4 separate regions of the Homo sapiens genome follow, and regions 1, 3 and 4 are each linked to region 2. Evidence: promoter capture Hi-C in human tissues and cell types (Jung and others, 2019). All regions are on one chromosome and are shown on one strand. Each heading gives the region's core, a stretch centred on a gene start or on the middle of the fragment in contact. The rest is flanking DNA. Distances are from core to core; before and after follow the strand shown. Region 1 has its middle 91 kb from the start of ZCCHC2. Region 2 holds the start of KDSR (3-ketodihydrosphingosine reductase). Region 3 has its middle 31 kb from the start of PHLPP1. Region 4 overlaps PHLPP1 (PH domain and leucine rich repeat protein phosphatase 1).

Region 1 (2,700 bases), core at 40-2,539, 750 kb before region 2:
TGTCCTTACTTCCTTCCGAATGGCCTGGCTGCAGCTTAAGTGCACAGAGGAGTGGTTCCTAGACCCACTCTCAATCCTGGGTCTGGGTCTGGCTGGGTCTGGCTGCTTCTGCAGGCTTCTTGCTGTCAGGTCTCTCTGGTGTCAGAAATCTCCTGCCCTGCTGCCACCTTATGGAGTTAGGATGCCAGACAGACTGGCAGGGAAGCAGCCCCATGGGGGGTTGAACCCTGCCTCTCTACTCTGTTCTCTGCATGGTATCAGGGTGGCCCCGAGGGAGTGCAGAAGTGCCAGCCTTCCGCGGAGGGGAAGCCCTTTTTTGCCTGATCTTCTACATAAGCTTCTCCTAAGTGCTAGAGTCAGGCATAACCCCAAGGAAAGTTTCAAGGAGACGAGTGGTTCCAGCATGCAATGCTGCAGAGAGCTCAAGGAAAGCATTTAGTGGATGTCATAACTAGGAGGTCGTCAAGACGGGGAAGCTGCAGAGAACACCTGGGCACTGCTCCTTTGGGGATCTTAGCTGAGAGGCCTTCCTGTTGGCAAGAGAGGGGGTAGGAAGGACCTACTCTCCTGCCTACTCCAGTGGGCAGGCTTTCACATGAGAAGGAAAGAGGAAATGTAATTATTTCTGAGACTGAAGAGATCAGGTGGCATGGTATTAATGATTAGGGAACAAGACTGTCATACACATCACGACAGTTCGTCAGTTCCAACTTCCCTCATGTGAATGACAGCTGACATTCACACTTGCAGGACCAGGAGCCAATAATAACTACAAAGTGGCAAGTGGCTCTGTCCCTTCTGCCGCCACTAAAGAAAGCATCTCAAAATGCAAGCGTGTGGTAGTGACTTCATTGTAGAGACACTTGAATCACCTCTAGTTTATTAATATATTATAATAAACCAAAGAATGGTCCTTTCACTCTTAGTCACAAAGTACTTGCACCATGCCTCTCAATAACATAAACCAACAAAAAACTCAGTGAGATTCAAGACTCATAGTTCAACTAACACCCCTGCCATACTCACTCTTCCTTCTTAAAAAAATATCAATGCCAACAACTTACAGAAAAATCTCATCAATACTAAACAGCTGTTCCTTTCCTAAAAAGTCTCTTTGGATATAAATTGGTATCTCCATCAGCTTACAAGGTTGTAATCAGTATGTACATATAATTTCATGTTCTACTTTTCTTCACTAAATATTTCATCTACACATTCTCATTTACTGGTGTACTCTCACGATGTCTAGGGGCTAAAAAGATTTTATTAATTAATGTTTTCCCATTGTGGAGTATTGGTTGTTTCCCATTGTTCATTTTACAGTGCTGCAATTGATTTTTTTATAGAAAAGAAAATCAATGTTTTGTGTTTTCATTTTGAGGTACGTTTTCCCAAGTGAAACTATTGGATCAAAGGGTCTAAAGTGTTTGATGCCCTCTCACATAGTGTCAGATTCCTTTTCTATAAGAATACGCAAGCCGGGCATGGTGGCTCATGCCTATAATCCCAGCACTTTGGGAGGCCGAGACAGGTGGATCACCTAAGATCAGGAGTTCAAGACCAGCCTGGCCAACATGATGAAACTCTGTCTGTACTAAAAATACAAAATTAGCCAGGCGTGGTGGCACATGCCTGTAATCCCAGCTACGCAGGAGGCTGAGGCATGAGAATTGCTTGAACCCAAGGGTTGGAAGTTTCAGTGAACCAAGAGCGCACCACTGCACTCCAGCCTGGGTGACAGAGTGAGACTCTGTCTCAAAAAAAAAAAAAATAAATAAAGAATACATCTATTGTTAGTACCACTAGCAATATATGAATATCCAGTCCCCTTCATGTCAAATGGATTTTTTTTTCTTTTTTTTCTTTTTTTTTTTTTTTGAGATGGAGTCTTGCTCTGTCACCCAGGCTGGAGTGCAGTGGTGCAATCTCGGCTCACTGCAAGCTCTGCCTCCCGGGTTCACGCCATTCTCCTGCCTCAGCCTCCCAAGTAGCTGGGACTACAGGTGTCCACCACCACGCCCGGCTAATTTTTTGTATTTTTAATAGAGATGGGGTTTCACCATGTTAGCCAGGATGGTCTCAATCTCCTGACCTCGTGATCCACCCGCCGGATTTTTTTCTTTCTTTTGTTTTTCTTCTCCTTTTTTTTTTTTGGTTTCATAGATATGCAATATTTCTCAAAAGAATTGTTTTAAATCTGTATTTCTGAAGTTGAATTTAGGGGAGAGCCTGTGCCCCTGATGCCACCCTAAAGTGTCAGAGCCTCTTCACCCCGACAGTCTCCTTGCACACACATGTGTATGAACCGAAAGAGGGAAGTTTCTTCAAGACCCAGGCCCAGACAGCCAGCTCACACACGCATGTGACTGGTTTAAAGGGAAGTGCATAGCTGCTCTGGAGCATGGCACGGCAACCATTAGTTTAGTACCTGGCAAAGGGTAGACGATCCAGAAGTAGGCGCTGAGCTAGCTGCTTCGTGGAGCCTGAAGGAGAGTGTGATGCTGTGAGCGCTTCCTCCCCGAAGCTGCATAGCAACTACACATGCCTCCTGAACAGCTTTTCTTACCCCATCTTCTGTTCTAAGTATGGCAACTACATGTCCTAAATCTGCTAACATTTCAAACAGGTGGTCCAGTTGTCCCCAGAAAGTGCACTCATTCTTTTGAGACCACATGTCCCAAATTTGGACTGGGGACATGT
Region 2 (2,712 bases), core at 111-2,610:
ATTAGGAACAGGAGGTGTTGGAAAAAGCTAATAGCTTTACAAAGGAGAAATTAAACAGATACATTTTCTCATTCACAAACCCTTGTACAGATTTAAAGCATACTAAGAAAAACGACCATCTTATTTTATACCAGCTCAGCGGGGAGGCTCGGATCTCCGGTGCAGAGATAGGACAGGAAGAGGTGTGCGGCCAATTTTGTAACCAACCCTCCTTACTCCTAACTCCTCGCCTCACTGTGCCTCGGGTTTGGGAGATCCAAACGAGAATGCTCGTGAGAAAGCCACTGCAAACGGGAAAGTGCTGGGCGCAGGCAAGGAGGCATTCTCTCTGTTTAAGAAAGGTGCCACATTTGCAGAACAGGGATCGCTGAATATGCGAGCTTCCGCCAAGAAATAAATCACACCTATCCACCTCTCCTTCATTCCTCGCACACAAGCCTTGTCGTTTAGCTCATCCTTCCCACTAGAAAACAGCAAAGGATTGCATTGGAGCAGCAATCAGCAGATGCCACGCTGAGCTCAGAGACAAGCAGTGTAGACGGGACAGGCGTCCCAATACCGCTAAGCCACCACCGCCAGCCCGCTGGGTTCTGAGCAGTTTCCCCAGGTGAGTCACTTCCTGGAATCCTCTGGCAGCGGCTCTTCCCGTCACTCGCACAGGCCATCTTCCAGTTCCGAGCTGCCTCGGCGGGTCCCGGCGGCTGGGACCCCACTTCCCCGCTGTCTGCCCCCGCCCGGGGCCGCGCGCCGCACCCTGCACACCACCGACCGCTGTGTCCTTGGCAAAGTTTCTCAGCCTCTCTGTGCCTCAGTTGACTCATCGGAAAAACTGAGGACAAAACATCCACATCCCAGGGATGTTGCATGGATTCACGAGCAGCCACAGAACCCCTGGGGCCCCGGGAACCCTGCGGCCGGCGGGGTCCCCCGTCGCACGCTCTCCGGCCCTAGGAGGAGCCCGAGGCTGCGGAGGGCGGGTCCGCGAGGCCGGGTGCCGGGGCCGGGGGAAAAGCGCCGGGGTGGACGGCGGCAGGTGACCTTCCCCATTTGGCCATGCCTTCCTGGGGACCGCGGCCTGGAAAAAGGGACGTAGGCTACGCGGCCTCGGCGGCGGAAAGGCCGCGCGGGCCGGTAAGTCGGGGGGCAGCAACAGGAGGCCACTCACCACCACATGCGCCCCGGGCAGGGCGAGGGGCTTGGGGCTGATGAGCGGAGACACCATGTACAGCAGCAGCACGAAGGCCACGAGGAAGGCGGCAGCCAGCAGCAGCATCGCTCCGCGGGGCCAGGGGCCCGGAGCGGCCGGGCGGGGGCCGCCGGGCAAGGCGCGCAGGGCTGGGCTGCGGCGAGGCGAGAATCACGCGCGGCGGGCGGGCGCCTGGAGTGTTTGGGTTTGCGGGCCGGGGCGGGCCGCGGCGGAGGGGAAGAGGAGGAGCCGGCGCGCGCGCCACCCAGGCGGGGCGGTGCTTCCAGGGGGCGAGTAGGCCGCCACCGCCACCGCCACCGCCACCACTGCCAGAATCGCCTCTCGGGGGTCGCCGGGTGTCTCCCACTCCCCCGGCCTCGGGACGGGGCCCGCAGTCCGCAGCCTCTCCCGTGGAAACCGGGCCTCCCGTCCCTGTGCGTCGCGAGCGGGCTCCGGACAGCGCCAGATGCGAGCGCGCCGGGAAGGGCTGCGAAGACTCGCTCTTCGGGAGCTCGAATGGCTTCTTAGGACCCCGCAGGGCGGGTTTCCAGGCCTGCCACGGCCTCCAGTGTGGGCGTGACGAGCGCTCCTCCCTGGAGTTCAGCCCTCGGCTTGGGACTGCCCGCTGGGTTGCTCGGAGGCCCCGGAGCATCGGAAAGGGCGGCTGGAGGCTCCCGGAGCGGGCTCAGCCTGGGAGCCCAGCGACTACGCTCTGAAATCCCGGGCTCCATTCCATATTTTTTGGCGTTTTTAGAAGATGGTCACGGCCCACTTTCGCTTTTCAGAGGACCGGAAAGCCTTAACAGGGAGTTTTGAGGAATCACTAAGGTAATTCAATTTCATTGAGTTCAGAGTTCATCTTTACCAAGCAGGTTCAAAACAAATAAATAACGCAAACAACTCAGCTTTATTAAGGTCTCATTCACGTACTATACCATACAATTCCCGATTTAACGTGCGTAATAGGCCGGGCGAGGTAGCTCGCGCCTGTAATCCCCGACCTTTGGGAGGCTGAGGCGGGCGGATCTCTTCAGGTCTGGAGTTCGAGACCAGCCTGGCCATGATGGTGAAACCCCCGTCTCTACTAAAAATACAAAAAATCACCCGGGCATGGTGGCGTATGCTTGTAATCCCAGCTACCCTGGAGGCTGAGGCAGGAGAATCGCTTGAACCCGGGAGGCAGAGATTGCGGTGAGATCGCGCCACTGCACTCCAGCCTGGGTGACAGATCAAGACTCCGTCTCAAAAATAAATAAATAAATAAAGCTTATAATAAATTGTCTTTAATATAGTCACAGTTGTAGACCCATCACTACCATAAATTTTAGAACATTTTTGTCACAACCCCCCAAAATCCTATACTCATTGGCAGTCACGACCCATTTCCTCCCAAGCCCCGCCCAAGCCTAAGCAATCCCTCATGTTTCTGTCTCTATAATCTTGCCTATTCGGGATATTTCACATAAATGGAATCATATAATATGTAGCCTTTTTCATCCTATCTTTCACTTACTGTAATGTTTTCA
Region 3 (2,700 bases), core at 36-2,535, 680 kb before region 2:
ATTGATCCAGCCTTACTGTGCCCTGGTGCATTTACTAGGGCATTATTAATTTGCTAAACGATGAGCCATCACACAATTTTTATATGTAGCCCCCTAAAAGCAGGGATGCTATAACTTCCAATTCTAACTATGCTTTCAACTTCATATCAGGGAACATGAAAAAAATGGGAGATAGTTGATGAGGACATCTAATTAAGGTATGTCCTCAAAACTCCTTTTGAAGCAGCTTTCAACCTCTTTGAATTCATGCTAAAATTAAATGTTCCTCTGAATAAACGGATGTATCTGAATACATAAATGTGCATGTGTGCGAATTGAATCATCTACTTTTCCATAAAATAAAACATATTGGTGGCTCACATTACCTGCTGAAATAACCTGGCAACATTGTTTTAAAGTAAATTCCTCCCCAGGCTTTTTTTCTAATACTTTCTGCTCTGATTATATTTTATTACTGGTTTCTAGCCTTTATGCCAACAATGTAGAACTCTCAGCAGCATCCAACATAGAGAAACGGGGAGGCGGGAGGGGGACAGTTTCATCAAAGGAAACATTAGATCCACATCTATGATTTTCTTGTTCTCTGACTTCCAATCTTACTTTTAATTTATTTTATTTTTATTTTTTTGAGATGGAGTCTCATTCTGTCACTCAGGCTGTAGTACGTGGTGCAATCTTTGCTCACTGCAACCTCCACCTCCCAGGCGCAAGCATTTCTCCTGCCGCAGCCTCCCAAGTAGCTAGGATTACAGGCGCCAGCCACCATGCCTGGCTAATTTTTTGTATTTTTATTATAGAAGGGGTTTCACCATGTTGGCCAGGCTGGTCTCGAACTCCTGACCTCAAGTGATCTGCCTGCCTCGGCCTCCTAATTTGCTGGGATTACAGGCGTGAGCCACTGTGCCCAGCCCATTTTTTACTCTAATATAACTCTTTTTCTTCAGCTGAGTTCAGAGTAATACCACCAAGGAAGAAAATGAGAGTTCAATCTGAATCATATTTATAACAGAAAATTATAATGTTTAATATAATAATGTATAATAATAAATTATAAATGGTTTTAGATAATAATAGTGAAGAATTTCGTGCTTGGAATATATCAGTATATCAGTTGAGAAAATTCTTCTAAGCCCCAAGGTAATATAATTCAAAGCTGCCATAGCTCTTATAAACCAAAAATAAAATTCTAAGTCCCCCAACCGGCTGAATGAACTGCGTTTCATGGAATCCACCAAAGGGATTCCAAGAAACCTGAAAAACTAGTTAAGGCCGTAATGGGAAGGCAGGGGTCAGACATGCCTCATTATACCCTCTCCCTTCTGGAGTTCAGACTCAACCGACCAACATTGACATTAGCATACACATCCCAGACTGACAGAACAGACTCTCTGTAGCAGTAAGATACTGATAACATCATATGACAGGTAACAGGCCCTAAAGGAAATCAAAGTATTTTACCCTAACATATATTTATTTGACATATTTTTTAATGGCCCTTCAAAGCCATCTCTTGTGGGGAAAATTTACATTCTGCAGACAGCCTCCTTCTCTTTCCAGGTCTTTTCCTGTTCCACAAGAGATTTCACTAAGAGCCTGATAACTTTTTTTTTTTTTTTTTTTTTTTTTTAGATGGAGTTTCGCTCTTGTCACCCAGGCTGGAGTGCAGTGGCACTACCTAGGCTCACTGCAACCTCTGCCTCCCGGGTTCAAGTGATTCTCCTGACTCAGCCTCTTGAGTAGCTGGAATTACAGGCGTGTGCCACCATGCCCAGCTAATTTTTGTATTTTTAGTAGAGACAGGGTTTCACCATGTTGGCCAGGCTGGTCTTAAACTCCTGACCTGATGTGATCTACCAGCCTTGGCCTCCCAAAGCGCTGGGTTTACAGGTATGAGCCACTGCACCCAGCCCCTGATAGCTTTTTTTTTTTTTTTTTGAGACGGAGTCTCGCTCTGTCACCCAGGCCGGACTGCGGACTGCAGTGGCGCAATCTCGGCTCACTGCAAGCTCCGCTTCCCGGGTTCACGCCATTCTCCTGCCTCAGCCTCCTGAGTAGCTGGGACTACAGGCGCCCGCCACCGCGCCCGGCTAATTTTTTGTATTTTTAGTAGAGACGGGGTTTCACCTTGTTAGCCAGGATGGTCTCGATCTCCTGACCTCATGATCCACCCGCCTCGGCCTCCCAAAGTGCTGGGATTACAGGCGTGAGCCACCGCGCCCGGCCCCCTGATAGCTTTTAAGCTCTGATAAGAGACATTGACCAGCTACTCTCTCTGAAACCTATGTAATAGATTCTTGGCTTCCACAACTCCCGTTATCTTAGCCCCAAGCATTTCTTTCTGCTGACTTCAACTCTTTAGGCAAAGCTTAACTCTTTCAATCAATTGCCAATCAGGAAATCTTTGAATCCACCTATGTCTTGGAAGCCACCTCTCCCTGCCCTTCAATATGTCCCCTTTCCAGGGCAAACCAATTTAGAACTTACACGTACAGATTACGTCTCTGCCTGTAACTTCTGTTTCCTCAAAAAGTATAAAATGAAGCAGTGCAACCCAATCACCCTGGGCACATGTTCTCAGGACTGCCCGATGCTGTGTCACAAGTCATGGTCTTCACATTTGCTCAGAATAAACCTCTCCAAATATTTTAGAGTTTGGCTTTTTCATCTATACTCTTTACAGTTTACAAAGCATGTTCACAT
Region 4 (2,774 bases), core at 6-2,505, 510 kb before region 2:
TATTGGAACATTATGAAGATATATGATGTAATTAATTTTTATTTATTTATTTATTTTTTGAGATGGAGTCTCACTGTGTCACCCTGGCTGGAGTGCAGTGGCCCAATCTCGGCTCACTGCGAGCTCCGCCTCCTGGGTTCATGCCATTCTCCTGCCTCAGCCTCCCGAGTAGCTGGGACTACAGGCGCCTGCCGCCACGCCCGGCTAATTTTTTGTATTTTTAGTAGAGACGGGGTTTCACTGTGTTAGCCAGGATGGTCTCGATCTCCTGACATCATGATCCGCCCGCCTCGGCCTTCCAAAGTGCTGGGATTACAGGCGTGAGCCACCATGCCCGGCAGGTTGACAGCAGTGTTTCACTTCACACAAGCAGAATTATTTGTGGTATTTCAGCTGCTTTGACCAAGCCTTTTAGAGTCATTCTGGTTAATTTTGAGCATGCCATGCACATAAGAAGGATAAATACAACTTTACTAAAGTATAGAGGGGGCAAAATCATCACATTAATGTTACTGTGAACTTTCCCTTGCCTGTGAAAGACGATTATCCACTAACTGAACCAAGAAGAGTAATGGGAATGATGCAGAGTACTGTCCTCTTGCAAGGGAAGATGAGAATTTTGAAAGCGTGGCAGGGATAGGGTAAGGATAGGACAGATAGATTGGTTTACAAATGCAACCCAGCTACACTCAGAGGAGGGACGTTTTTGTCATAAGGGTCCTAATAATAGGCAAAGAAATGACTTAGGAAAGTGTCAAGCTGAGTTATATGTTAGAAATGTGTGGCCACCCATTGAGTCATCTGAAAATTTTGTTGTTCACATTAGCATTTTTTATAGTGCAGTGTTCTTTAGAGGAAATATTTTGAGGACCAAATGAACCCTCCTTCCCTTATGTATATTTACAAGTCATTTGGGAAAAAAAGAGACCACCTGAGCAGGTAGTTGGAAATTATGTTCATTTTGATGTATCTCTCAGGGTGTGTCCATCGTGGTAGAAAAGTCCCATTTAATTTACTAACTCAATTAGCCTTAATTTTTTTTCTTTTTTCTTTTTTTTTTTTGTTCTTGTTTCGTTTTGTTTTTGAGATGGAGTCTTGCTGTTGTTGCCCAGGCTGGAGTGCAGTGGCGCAATCTTGGCTCCCTGCAACCTCTGCCTCTCGGGTTCAAGCGATTCTCCTACCTCAGCCTCCTGAGTAGCTGGGATTACAGGTGCCCGCCACCCCACCCAGCTAATTTTTGTATTTTCAGTAGAGATGGAGTTTCCCCATGTTGGCCAGGCTGGTCTCGAACTCCTGACCTCAGGTGATCTGCCCCCCTCGGCCCCACAAAGTGCTGGGATTACAGGCGTGAGCCTCTGCCCCCAGCCTGTTATTGTTAATACAGACTAAAACTGACTTTCTATGGCACAGTTACCTTCAACTGATCACAACTTGAATCTCTTCGTCTATAGTTCATTGATGGTCTGGCTAATTGCAGTTTATCCTTATAACTGCTCAACGACGAGAGCATTGGCTTACATCGTAGTCTTTTTTGTTTTATAGACTTTTATTGCTTGGAGTGGTAGACATTGCTGTGGAGATACTTGGTCTACAGAGCCTCTCCTGATTTTTTAAAATGAATAAAATGGTATTACTGCAGCAACTTGTTAAGGTGATCAGGGCAGGTCTATTAGTCTATAAGACAGGACTTAGTCTATTTTAGAGATACGGAAACTTGAAGGACAGGTAAGCGAAGTGACTTATTCAAAGTCACGTTGCTAGTAAGTAGAACTGTTCCTACCTACCCCACATACTGTTAAGCTGGTGCCCTTTCTCCTGTATGTCAAGTTGTGTGGACCTCACCTTTGTGCCTTCAACTATCTTGTCTGTGGTTATAAGTACAGTAGCTTTTGCCAAAAGGAATTTATATTCTGAGATCCTTTAGAAGCTTTCTGTAACAGAGATTTGAGGCACTTTCTATATATGCCTGTTTCACTTCCCAAATATCTATAACCTCTTATACTTTTCCTGTAACCTTTAAAATTTTGATTAGGTGCTCACTGGATGGCATCACTGTTGCCCAGCTGGATAAGTTGTGTGGGATTGGAGTGGGCAGAGCCTATGATGTCAAGGAATAATGCCCCATGGGGATTCACCCCTCCTCGGAAATCTGTATTTGGTCAGCAGATGGTCTCTACTGCTTCTCCCGAGGAGGACTCACTGTCTCTGACCACCTTGTCTTCATTTCTAAGGCTTAAACATATCCTGAGGAGTACATCTAATTTTCTTTGCTGTAGTTATGTTATTTTATGATGGAGATTAGAGGAGCCTCCCTTCTGATGAGATCCAGGTCTTGACCTGATGGCATAGAGTTAATAGTACTGGCTCTTGTTCAAACTCTGATCCTGCTACTTTTTTTTTTTTTTTTTTTTGAGATGAAGTTTCGCTCTTGTCACCCAGGGTGGAGTGTGATGGCTCAATCTTGGTTCACTGCAATCTCCGCCTCCCAGGTTCAAGTGATTCTCCTGCCTCAGCCTCCTGAGTAACTGGAATTACAGGCACCCACCACCACGCCTGGTTAATTTTTGTATTTTTAGTAGAGAAGGGGTTTCACCATGTTGGCCAGGCTGGTCTCAAACTCCTGACCTCAAATGATCCACCCACCTCGGCCTCCCATAGTGTTGGGATTACAGGCATGAGCCCCTACACCCAGCCTGATCCTGCTGCTTTTTAAACTAAATGGCCTTGGGCGCACACTCTGTGACTCAGTTTAATCTTTATCTTTGAAACAGGGG

Evidence for each region. Contacts are between HindIII fragments. The study calls those that stand out against the background at their distance.
Region 1: a contact is called between a fragment that was not itself captured here and the fragment with the promoter of KDSR in region 2, in 2 of the 25 tissues and cell types used here (heart left ventricle and spleen).
Region 3: a contact is called between a fragment that was not itself captured here and the fragment with the promoter of KDSR in region 2, in 2 of the 25 tissues and cell types used here (lymphoblastoid cells and spleen).
Region 4: a contact is called between a fragment that was not itself captured here and the fragment with the promoter of KDSR in region 2, in 1 of the 25 tissues and cell types used here (dorsolateral prefrontal cortex).

What each region holds. Positions count from the first base shown.
Region 1 is chr18:62,612,278-62,614,977 of GRCh38, forward strand. No RefSeq gene overlaps it. Among named protein-coding and RNA genes, the nearest start is that of ZCCHC2, 91 kb to the left of the region's middle. RefSeq lists an enhancer at 1-9. The HindIII fragment of the contact is 3,993 bases long and covers 1-2,700 here.
Region 2 is chr18:63,365,846-63,368,557 of GRCh38, forward strand. It overlaps KDSR (3-ketodihydrosphingosine reductase), which reads right to left and starts at 1,361. Exons shown (of 10, transcript NM_002035.4): 1 at 1,166-1,361. The coding sequence starts at 1,273. It overlaps KDSR-DT (KDSR divergent transcript), which reads left to right and starts at 1,479. Exons shown (of 2, transcript NR_186602.1): 1 at 1,479-2,014. It overlaps LOC124904317 (a long non-coding RNA gene), which reads right to left and starts at 1,155. Exons shown (of 2, transcript XR_007066400.1): 1 at 405-1,155. RefSeq lists enhancers at 451-745, 785-1,732 and silencers at 594-643, 994-1,053, 1,124-1,573, 1,684-1,733. The HindIII fragment of the contact is 17,335 bases long and covers 1-2,712 here.
Region 3 is chr18:62,682,832-62,685,531 of GRCh38, forward strand. No RefSeq gene overlaps it. Among named protein-coding and RNA genes, the nearest start is that of PHLPP1, 31 kb to the right of the region's middle. The HindIII fragment of the contact is 4,652 bases long and covers 1-2,700 here.
Region 4 is chr18:62,852,303-62,855,076 of GRCh38, forward strand. The region is part of intron 3 of PHLPP1 (PH domain and leucine rich repeat protein phosphatase 1); the gene reads left to right. Among named protein-coding and RNA genes, the nearest start is that of PHLPP1, 140 kb to the left of the region's middle. The HindIII fragment of the contact is 4,110 bases long and covers 1-2,774 here.